3 separate regions of the Homo sapiens genome follow, and all the other regions are linked to region 3. Evidence: promoter capture Hi-C in human tissues and cell types (Jung and others, 2019). All regions are on one chromosome and are shown on one strand. Each heading gives the region's core, a stretch centred on a gene start or on the middle of the fragment in contact. The rest is flanking DNA. Distances are from core to core; before and after follow the strand shown.

What was found. Contacts are between HindIII fragments. The study calls those that stand out against the background at their distance.
Region 1: a fragment that was not itself captured here is called in contact with the fragment with the promoter of NANP in region 3 in 1 of the 25 tissues and cell types used here (lymphoblastoid cells).
Region 2: a fragment that was not itself captured here is called in contact with the fragment with the promoter of NANP in region 3 in 1 of the 25 tissues and cell types used here (spleen).

Annotation. Positions count from the first base shown.
Region 1 is chr20:25,995,764-25,999,268 of GRCh38, forward strand. No RefSeq gene overlaps it. Among named protein-coding and RNA genes, the nearest start is that of LINC01733, 42 kb to the left of the region's middle. The HindIII fragment of the contact is 8,751 bases long and covers 1-3,505 here.
Region 2 is chr20:25,977,926-25,981,556 of GRCh38, forward strand. No RefSeq gene overlaps it. Among named protein-coding and RNA genes, the nearest start is that of LINC01733, 24 kb to the left of the region's middle. The HindIII fragment of the contact is 3,730 bases long and covers 165-3,631 here.
Region 3 is chr20:25,622,423-25,626,102 of GRCh38, forward strand. NANP (N-acetylneuraminic acid phosphatase) reads right to left here and starts at 1,592. Exons shown (of 2, transcript NM_152667.3): 1 at 1,437-1,592. The coding sequence starts at 1,526. ZNF337-AS1 (ZNF337 antisense RNA 1) reads left to right here and starts at 1,623. Exons shown (of 4, transcript NR_126465.1): 1 at 1,623-1,713. RefSeq lists enhancers at 865-1,540, 1,512-1,681 and a silencer at 1,282-1,341. The HindIII fragment of the contact is 13,881 bases long and covers 1-3,680 here.

The DNA.
Region 1 (3,505 bases), core at 74-2,573, 370 kb after region 3:
TGCAGTGGCACGATTTCAGCTCACTGCAACCTCCCAGCTAATTTTTGTATTCCCAGTAGGGATTGTGGTTCACCGTGTTGGCTAGGCTGGTCTCGAACTTCTGACCTCAAATGAGTCCACCATCTTGGCCTCCCAAAGTGCTGGGATTGCAGGCATGAGCCACCACACCTGGCTCAAGACTTAGTTCCCATTGTTTCAGATGCCCTAGGACCATTTTATTCTACTTTAATTTCTGATGCATCGTCTCAGTGGAAATTTTACATTACTTCCCAAAGTATTTTACTCTTTTTAAGATCTTATCAGCTGAGTGCAGTGGCTCACACCTCTAACTGCAACATTTTGGGAGGCCAAGGTTGGAGGATCAGTTGAGCCCAGGAATTCAAGTCCAATCTCTGCAACATAGTGAGAAGCCCATCTCTACAAAAAAAAAAAAAAAATGTTTAATTAGGTGGGTATATTGTTGCATGCCTGTGGTCTCAGCCAGTAGGTAGGCTGAGGTGGGAGGATCACTGGAGCCCAGGAGGTTGAGGCTGCAGTGGCCATGATTATACCACTGCATTCCAGCAAAAATATTTTTAATTACATTTTTTAAGAAAACAAAATATACACTTACTGACTTGATACAAATGAATGACTTTTATAATCTACAGAAACCAAAAAAATAACAATAATAAAAACCCACAGCCATTCTTCTTATGTGAGACTCTGGTGTCTCTGAGTTGTAAGAATTGTGAATTATGATTAATAACAAATATGCATGACAAGGACCCAATAAGAGATAGGCATTGATAAATTGCAAATCACACTTACTGGAGTAAGGTCTTTAAAGTTGTACAAGAAAAAGAAAGAAAAAGAAAAGGCATTGAAAAACTGCATTGGCTACCAAAATGCTAAAGTTTACCTAAGTCCATTAATCAGCACACACACACACACACGCAATGGATGTGTAAAATGGTCAACATGGTATTCCATGAACGTATCCTCTTATAAATAGGTCTGTGGGGGTAAGAGATGAGGTTCTATAGATCCTGGAATCAGGGATGGGGAATCTGTGGGGTCCCTGGGGTGAGAGATGAGGGTCTGTAGATTAGTGATGGGTGGTCTTTTGGATAGTGATGAGATCCATGGAATCAATTCTTGTGGGTATGTAGGGTCAGTGATGAGGGAATCTGGTGTCAGTGGCGGGATGTGTGTGGAATCAGTGAGAGAGTGTGGAATCAATCTGTGAAGGCCAGATTTGTGGTGTCATCTCTCAGGCTGACACATCCTGACCTGTGTGACAATGGTGGAAATTCTATGGGGTCAGAGTGTGACAGTCAGTTCCTTGCCACTGGGTGTTCTGGGTCCGGCCAAGGGCACAGATTCCCTTACCTGATCCTGGCTGGAGAGGCCCTTCTCACGGACTCCTCATGTGAAAGATGGGTTGTCGGCGGTTTTGGTTTTTGTTTTATGGTGGGGGTGGGTGGGTTGGCTTTTCCTTTTGGGTTTGGTTTTGCCTCTTAGAGACCACAGACACATCCAGCTTTTAGGAAGACATTTTTGTCTGGGCGATCGCTAGTTCCTTTGGGCCAAGCCATCTAATGGGAATGAAGCTGACCATTCCCTCAGCGCAATTCAGATCTAGATGGTCGCTTTAAGGGGTCCACTCGGGGGCATGCAAGTGGGTTGTGGCTTTGAGTGGCAGGTGGGCGGGAAGAAACAACTAAGAAAGACACACGAGAGGTCCTCAGGCTTGATCTGTCACAGCTAGAAGAACAGCTTCCTTAACCCATCAGGCGCCAATGGGAGGTGCCTCTGGGCTGCAAGAGGCTGGCAGAGGGGGACTTCCAGACCCAGAAAGTCTGGGCACAGAAGCCTATTACTGCCAGACGCTGAGGAGTTGCCGTGGGAACCAAGGGCCTTTCGGGCCAGATCAGAGCCTTTCTCAGACAATTCTTTGGGTAACTGGCAAGCTCCTGTCCAGCGCACACCCCTATGAATGCTTAGTGTGCCATCTCGGGCAAGTCTTCTTTGGTCTGAGAGCCACTTGTTTCTTAAATCCCTGCGCTAATCTCGCCGTCTGCTCCTATGTAGCCCAGGCATTTGCCGCATGCTGGTCCTTTCTTTCCTGACAGGCGGGCAGTCTCCCTCCAGCTTCTGGGAGGACAGTTCAAATTATGGAGGAGGGGGTGCATGTAGGGCAGCAGTGCCCAGGGGAGTATGGGGGAGTTGGGGGAGCAGAGGCTCATTTTTCTTTATAGCTCAGATTCCCAAGCCTGTGACTTTGAGAATCTTTGTCTTCCTTGCAACATTTCAATCTGAGGCTCTTGTGGAGAGGGCAGAGTTGGAGCCAGATGGAAGAGTGGTGGGAGAGGAGTGGGTGGAGGGAACATGGAGAATGTTTCAGGTGGTGTCTTTATTTCTGGCACCTTACTTTGCCTACTGGAGTTTCCCAGTCTGTTCCAGACGCCCTCTCTAGACCCTGAGAGGGCCTGAGGAGGCATGTTAGTTGCCAGTGTGGTGGAGATGGAGTGCCGGGAGGTGGAGGTTGCAGTGAGCCAAGATCACGCCACTGCACTCCAGGCTGGGTGACACAGCGAGTCTCTGTCTCAATAAATAAATAAATAAATAAACAAACAAATGGAAGGGAAAAAACACAATATAAAAACCAAGTGATTCTAAAAGTAACAATATATCATAATGCCTAAATATGTGTAATTGGTGGGGCATGGTGGCTCCGATTATCATAATGCCTAAATTTGTGGGATTGGTGGGGTGTGATGGCTCCCACCTGTAATCCTAGCACTTTGAGAGGCTGGTGGATCACCTGAAGTCAGGAGTTTGAGACCAGCCTGACCAACATTGTGAAACCCTGTCCCTACTAAAAATAGAAAAAAATTAGCCAGGTGTTGTGGCGGACACCTGAAGTCCGAGCTACTAGGGAGGCTGAGGCAGGAGAATCACTTGAACCCAGGAGCAGAGGTTGTAGTGAGCCGAGATTGCCCCATTGCACTCCACCCTGGGTGACAGTGTGAGACTCCCTCAAAAAAAAAAGTTTGTGGGACCAATTCCAATCGAGTCCAGGGGTCTCAGTTGGCCAAGGCAGTCTCAAACTTCTGACCCCAAGTGATCTTCCTGTTTCGGCCTCCCAAAGTGCTGGGATTATAGGCGTGAGCCACCATGCCCAGCCTCCCCTCCTTTTCACTCAGGGATTTTAAATGTTTTATTTGCTCCATCTGTTATGTATGATTGCCTTGACGATTTCAGCTTGAATTAAAATTACATATTTTTGCCTGTGTTTATTAATATTTAAACATATTAAAATAATACATGTTCATAATGAAAATGAAACATTACAAATAAATACACAGGAAAGGCAGTATTCCCCTTCCAGCTCCACTCTTGAAATAACCAGTTAACAAGATGATGAACATCTTTCCATGATGTTCTCCAAGATTCATATAATTATTTGCAATCATACAATGGCATATACAGCTCAGGTGTGGTGGCTCACGCATGTAATTCC
Region 2 (3,631 bases), core at 780-3,279, 360 kb after region 3:
TCTGGCAGGAATCCTTGAACATGGCTTGGACTCCTGCACAAGTCTGCTCATTCTCCCAGGAGAGCCTTGATTTTTCTTTGCTTTCATGGTTTGTCCACATTGCCAATCAACAGCACTCCTGGACATTATTCTCAGGTTTCAAATTGCCCCAGACAGCCTCTGAGACACTCTCTCAACCTCATGTGCGCCCACGAGAGGCCTGTTTTAGGTGTGAGAACACTGCTCCACCTTGGACTTGCCTTTGTCGTGGTTTCTGCCTTTCCCAGAGAGCTGTGCTGAGAAGCAGGAGCCCCTGTGAGGCCTGGGATGAAGGAAGGCAGGGGGTTCAAGGGCCTGGCCATCTTCCACTGACACCTGCCACTTGGATCTCAGATATTATTCCATCACCCAGAGACCTCTTAACAACTCACCAGACTTTATTCCCATCCCCAGGAGACCCAATTCATGCACACAGCCTCTTTTGGGAATGGAGTCAGAAGACCAGTCTCCAGAGCTCACCTCACAGTCTTCAAACTCCTCCTTCTCCTGTGGGACCCTACCATGGAGATGTCTCATGAAGGCCCTATGTTCGAGACTATTAGCGTGCTGCAGTGGGTTGCTTCAGGCAGCCTTTTTCTGGAGACTAGGCCAGCTCTGGCTGTACCATTTTCCTGAGCTTTGCCAGGCTTACAGCCCTGACAGCCAGGTGCCCGAGCCTGCTTGGTGAATGCACATGTGACCGTCAGGCCACCAGGCACCAGTGGTGAGCAGTGGCTCATGTCACAGTGAATGCCACCATTACCTGGTGACAAGTCCCTTCATCTTGGTGGAGAAGGAGTCCTCTGTGGATGTGTGTTGGCATTGAACTATCACCTGTCTACTCTGAGGGCTCTATGGGATATTCCCACAATCCTAGGAGTGGGCAGTGGCGAGTCAGCCTGAAGACACATCAAGTGGAGCCCCAGGAATAAACCACAAAATCCCTAAGGATCCAAAAGGATACCCACGATGAGTCAGGCCTGCCTAGACAGTGTGGGAGTGAGTCTTTTTGAAACTTCCCTCCCTGTGATTTCTAGGTACATCCCGCCTCTGTTTTCTGAGGCTGCTCTCTCTCAGAAGGAGCTTTCTGCAGAACCGTGCAGCCTCAGGAGCTGCCAGGCTGTGTGTTTCTGTGCGAGTGTTGTGAGTGTTTGAATGTCTGCGTGTGTGTGTGTGGCTGTATGTGAGTGTGTTTGTGTGTGTCTGTGTGTGTGTGTGAGGGGCATCTGCTAAAAGGAATGTGTTTAATGCACTGCAGCACTTTTTTTTCTAGTCCCTCCACCTTCTGGTGCACCTGTCTGTGTGGCTCTGCTTGGCCTATGGGGCTGCATGTTCTTTGTTTTTCCGTGGTTCCTGAGTCCACGGTGAGTTGGGGGGATGGTTGAGACTCACAGGTGTACAAATCACCTCCCCATACAAAGGAGCCATTCTTCTAGAAAGAAGAGGAGCACACCACTCTCAGAAGAAGACACCTGTCAGGGCCTCATTGTCCTGTGGTCAACCCAGGGTGTGACTCTAGCAGTCCTGTCCACAGGCCGCTTGAATCCAATTCGAATTCTGTTTGCAGCCGAGCAGGTGCTTCATGTCATGAAGGGAGCACTCCTCCAACATCTTGGGATTTCATTCTAGAACTAGGAGTGTGAGCAGCAATAAGTTCAGATATGGGTGAGCATACAGTCTGCTGAGGTGTGGATGGGGTCTGCACCTTCATCTGCAAAAAAAGGTGCAGACAGATGACACACGAAGTGCTTCCAACTCCACCCTTGCATTCCCTTCATTGCACAAGCTGTCCACAACATGGCCCCATGGTCAGGTGGGAGGACTCCAACTTGCGGGGAATAAAAAAAAGGTTTAACTGATACAAAAAGGTTTATCTCTGTAAGATAAATCCACACATCGCAAATAATTTGCAAAGATAGCTTCTTTCTAGTTTTTATGCCAGGATATTAGGTTTTTCAGTATAGTCCACAATAGGCTCTGAAATGTCCCTTCATAGATTCTACAAAAAAGTGTTTTCATCCTGTTGAATCAAAACAAAGGTTTAACTCTGTGAGATAAATCCACACTTCACAAAGCATTTTCACAGATAGACAGTTTTTAGTTTTTACTGTGAAATATTTGGTGTTTTACTTTAGTCCTCAATGTTCACGAAAATATCTTTTTTTTTTGTATATGCTACATAAAGAGTGTTCTCAACCTACCGAATGATAATAAAGGTTAAACTTTGTGAGATGAATCCACACATCACAAAGCATTTTCACTAATAGATTGTTGCTAGTATGTATCGTGGCATATTCAGTTTTTCAATATACTTGTCAGTGGGCTCCAAAATGTCCTTTTGTAGATTCTTTAAAAAGAGTGTTTCCAACGTGCTGAATCAATATAAAGGTTTACCTCTGTGAGAAGAATCCACCCACCACCAACATTTTCAAATATTGCTTGTTTCTAATTTTTATCTTGAAATATTCATTTTTTCACTATAGGCCTCAGTGAGCTACAAAATGTCCCTTCATAGGTTGTACAAAAAGAGTGTTGCCAACCTGCTGAATCAAAACAAAGGTTTAAGTTTGTGAGACAAATCCACATATCAGAAAGCATTTTCACAGGTAGCTTGCTGCTAGTTTTAATCACTGGTATTAGGTTTTTCAGTATAGCCTCTAATGTACTTTGAAACATCCCTTTGTAGATTCTATTAAAAGAAGGTTTTCAACCTGCTGAATCAAAACAAAGGTTTAACTCTGTAAGATGAACCCACACATGGCAAAGCATGTACACAGATAGCTTGTTTCTAGTTTCTATTGCAGAATATTTGGTTTTCCACAGTAGGCCTCAATGGGCTCTGAAATATCCCTTTATAGATTCTACAAAGAGTTTTTCCAACCTGCTGAATCAAAAAAAGTTTTATCTCTGATAGATGAATTCACACATCATAAAACATTTTCACAGACATTTTGTTTCTAGATTTTATCACAGGATATTAGGTTTTTCTCTATAGGCCTCAATGGGCTCCAAAATGTTTCTTCCTAGATTCTACAAAAAGAGTGTTTCCAACCTGCTGAATCAAAATAAAGGTTTATCTCTGTCAGACGAATGAACACATCACAAAGCATTTTCACAGATAACTTGTTTCAAGTTTTTATGATAAGATATTTTGTTTTCCACTGCAGGCCTCAATTGGCTTCAAAATATTCCTTTGAATGTTCTTCAAAAAGATTGTTTTCTACTTGCTGTAACAAAACAAAGGTTTAACTTTGTGAGATAAATCCACACATTGGAAAGTATTTTCACAGATAGCTTGTTTCCTGTTTTTATAGCAGAATATTTAGTTTTACAACTATAGGCCTCTATGGGCTGTGAAATGTTGCTTTATAGATTCTAAGAAAGAGTTTTTCCAACCTGCTGAATCAAAACAATTTTAACTCTCAGTTGAATCCACACAACACAAAGGATTTTCACTGATAGATTTTTCTAGTTTTTATCAAGGAATATTTGTTTTTTTATTATAGTTCTCAATGGGCCCTGAAATGTCTTTTAACACATTCCAGAATTAGACTGTCTGCAACCTGCAGAATAAAAACAAAGGTTTAACTCTGGGAGATGCATCCATACATCA
Region 3 (3,680 bases), core at 342-2,841:
TTAATTCCTTGAGGCACTTTCAGCTAGGTTTTGGGAGAGCTGTGATTCATATTCAAATGTCTGATTTTAAAGCCCAAACTCTGGGCCTACAGCAAGAATTGGCCTAAAGCAATAATTTAATTGAAATGCACAGGACTCAGCTTACTAATAACACACAGGTAAATATGTAACATCTGCAGCGAGAGATACTGGAGGCAATATGGCACAGGGTGGCACCCCTGAGGTGGAGGCCAACAAGTTAAAAGTGTGGAATGCCTCAGTAAAGTCATGAAGACAGACTTTAAAAATGTCTACTGATTCCGGCATTTTGGGAATGCCTAGTGATCCAGCAAGTCTATTTCAGTCTAGCGGTGAAGATAAAGCGACATTACGATGGATTTAGTAATAAATAGGAGGTAGAGACAAGGAGATAACGGGTATAGATTTCTCCGGGAAAACATGGCTGTCAAGAGAGACAGGCAACATCTACAGCAGGAAGAATAGCCCAAAGGGAGGCATCCTTTTTACAGCTTTTTTAAAACTATAGGGCAAACATGAATATGCGGCAGGAGTGGAATGCAGCTAAAAAGAAAACGGATGAGGTAGTGGAAGATCCAGGGACACAAAAACTAACTGATGAAGCATGAAGAGGACGGGGCGCTCAGGTTTGGATGAATTAGCTTTTGAAAGTGAGTTTTCCACATCTGATAAATCCTTCCCTTTCCCCTTGAAGCTGAAGGTAGAGAAAGGGAAGCCGGGGTGGACTGGGGCTGGAACACGGGAAGGTCTGAAAGCGCCTCCGCGCGTGTAGAGGGGCAGTGCCGCGGAGGAGCGCCTCAGGAAGGGCATGCCCTCGCAGCACGGGCTTTTGCTGTGTCACGTGTCAGAAAGCCACGGTGACCACCACCCCGCCAGGGAGGCCAGAAGAAGTTCTGCGGCGACAATTCTCTAAAGCAGGGCTTAAGTCCAGGCTCGGTACTGACAGCCGTGTCCCTTCTTGGGTCAACACTGGGGCTAACTCTACCATGTCTCCTCCCAGCAACCCCGAAAGTCGCATGGGGGACACGACCCTCTGTCGAGCTCCACACCGACAGTCTGACCGGGGGCGGGACCAGCGCCTGGTCTCGCGGCTTTGCTGTCGCCTCCCGCGCCCACGGGCACCTCCGCCACCGTGGCAGCCGTCACGGAGCCCTTCCGCGTCCCGAGCGCCAAGGCACCTGCGAGCAGCCGCTCCAGGGCTCGAGATTGGGTGACAAGCGGCCGCCAGGCCAGGGAAAGCAGACCCGCAGGGCCCGCGCGCCTCCAGCCACCTCCGCACCCGCACGCTCCACAGGTTTCAACCAGCAAGAGCGGCCCGCGGCGCCGGGGTGGAAGTGGGGTCAAGGGGAGGTGAGCGTGCAGGACGGGGCGGGGCGCACTGACCCCGCCCAGAGGAGCGCCATGGGTGGGGACGTTACCTCCAACATGCCTCTCCTGCTCGCCCCGGCCGTGTCGATGAGAGTGTTGTCCAAGTCAAAGAAAACCGCCCGCACGCGGCTCAGCCCCATAGCGCCGGCCGCTGGCGCGAACCGTAGCCTTGCCACCGCCGCCTGCGCATGCGCAAGGCGGACTGCCCAGAGAGACGTGGGAGGAGCCGCGAAGTCACCAGACCATCTCCCGGCGCGGGTGGAATTCCCGCGATCTGTCTCATTCCCTGCGCCGCCGAGAAAAGTGAGATCCCGCGAGACTCCCAGGGTATGGTCTCTCAAGAGCCCTGGAAACGTGTGTCGGCGCCGCCGGATGCGGCGACTTCTCAGTGGCTGTGGCTGGCGTTGGTCCGAAGCGTGGTGTTCTTCCCTGGTGTCTTTCTGCTTATCTCTTTCCTCCCTGGGCCCTCCGGCGCGAGGGACCGTCATCACCTCCCCGAGAGAGGTTGTCCGCGCTGCCAGGCGCTGGGCAGCAGGCTCTCCGGGTGGCCGGGCGGGCGGCGCGGAGACGTCGGCGGGCCTGATGTCTGCCTTGAGCGCCCGCGGTCCTAGCCTGCCTGTACGCGCAGGTCACTGTAGGTGATCTGGGGACGGGGGAAGGTGGAGCCTGCGCCTTCCCGCCTCGCGCCATTTGCGGCCTTCGCCGGGGTGGAATCCCTGTCTGCCTGGGCCCGCGCCAGCACGTTTCTGAAGGATGTGACTTGGGTCTCTTACAACCCGTTTAGTACCTGTGCCCTAAGACGGAGGGGCTGTGTAGTGGCTGCCCCATGTTTTGCCCTTCCTGATTGTTTTCCTGAAACCTTGCGTTCTCAGGTCTTTGGATGCCTTTTACTCGGTTGTTTTCAGGCATAGCAAGAGGTTGAGGGACGTCGACCGCCTTTTAAACCCGCGGAAGGGCTGTAGCAACTCTTGTCTCCTAGTGCTGGCAGAACGGGGATCGTAACACTAATCTCTAATCTTTGTCTCTCTTGGGTACCTTTACTGTAATTTGGATATGTGGTCATCATTAGTGACCAGAAATTGACTGTCAGGTACAGGCCAATTACCTGATTTTGTTTAGCCAGTGAGCTAAGTGGTTTTTTTTATTTTTTAATTTATTTTTATTTTTATTTTCGAGATGGAGTCTTGCTCTGTCACCCAGTCTGGCGTGTAGTGGCACGATCTTGGCTCACTGCAACCTCCGCCTCCCGGGTTCAAGCAATTCTCCGGCTTCAGCCTCCTGAGTAGCTGGGATTACAGGCGCATGCCACCACCCCCCGGCTAATTTTTGTATTTTTAGTAGAGACGGAGTTTCACCATGTTGGCCAGGCTGGTTCTCGAACTCCTGACTTCGTGATCCACCCGTCTTGGCCTCCCAAAGAGCTGGGATTACAGGCGTGAGCCACCGCGCCTGGCTAAGGGTGATTTTTACATTTGTAAATGGATTTAAAAAATCAAAATAACAGTGTTTTGTTACACATGAAAATCAAGAAATTTTAGTGCCCATAGTTGCATTAGAACACAGCGCACACATTCATTTCTGTATCGTCTGTGGCTGCTGTTGCCATACAGAAGCAGACAGAGTTGAGTAATTGTAAGCGAGACCACGTGGCTGGAAATCCTAAAATATTCATTATTTAGCTCTTTAGAGAAAAAAATTGCCAGTCTCTCACCTCGCTGGTGGAACTCCTTAACAGACCACTGATGTTCAGTAGGTTAGATTAATTGGTTTATCTTTATATTAATAGGAGTTTCTTCTGCAGCGTTAGACTACCTACAGTTTCTATATTTTATGGAGCACAATCACAGTTGACATCTCATTGCTATGGTGGAGAATAAACCCATAGGCATTCCTCAAAACCATGACTCCTTTCTGTGCTTACCTCATTGACGTATAGGGCTAGCCTATCAATTGTGGACATTTAGATTAGCAATCAGCCAAAATTATGGTGAATTAATTGGAGTTACTTTTAATTGCCTGAAATGTCAGAATCAATTTAGCATAAAACTATAGGCACAGGAAGCTTATAGGATTGGAGCAGCTTTTTTTTTTTTTTTCTGACTTGCATGCAGAGTTTGTTGTTTGCTGATTTAGGCAAAAATCTAAGGTTAGATGAGGCATAGCAGTCTGTATAATCCTTTTAAGGGGATGCGTTGTTTGATAGATTTCCTTTTGTGACAAGTCGTCTAATGGCATTCCATGACCTGTCCAACTTTGTGTAGAGCACCCTATTCTGTTGCTGTTCATAAAAATCT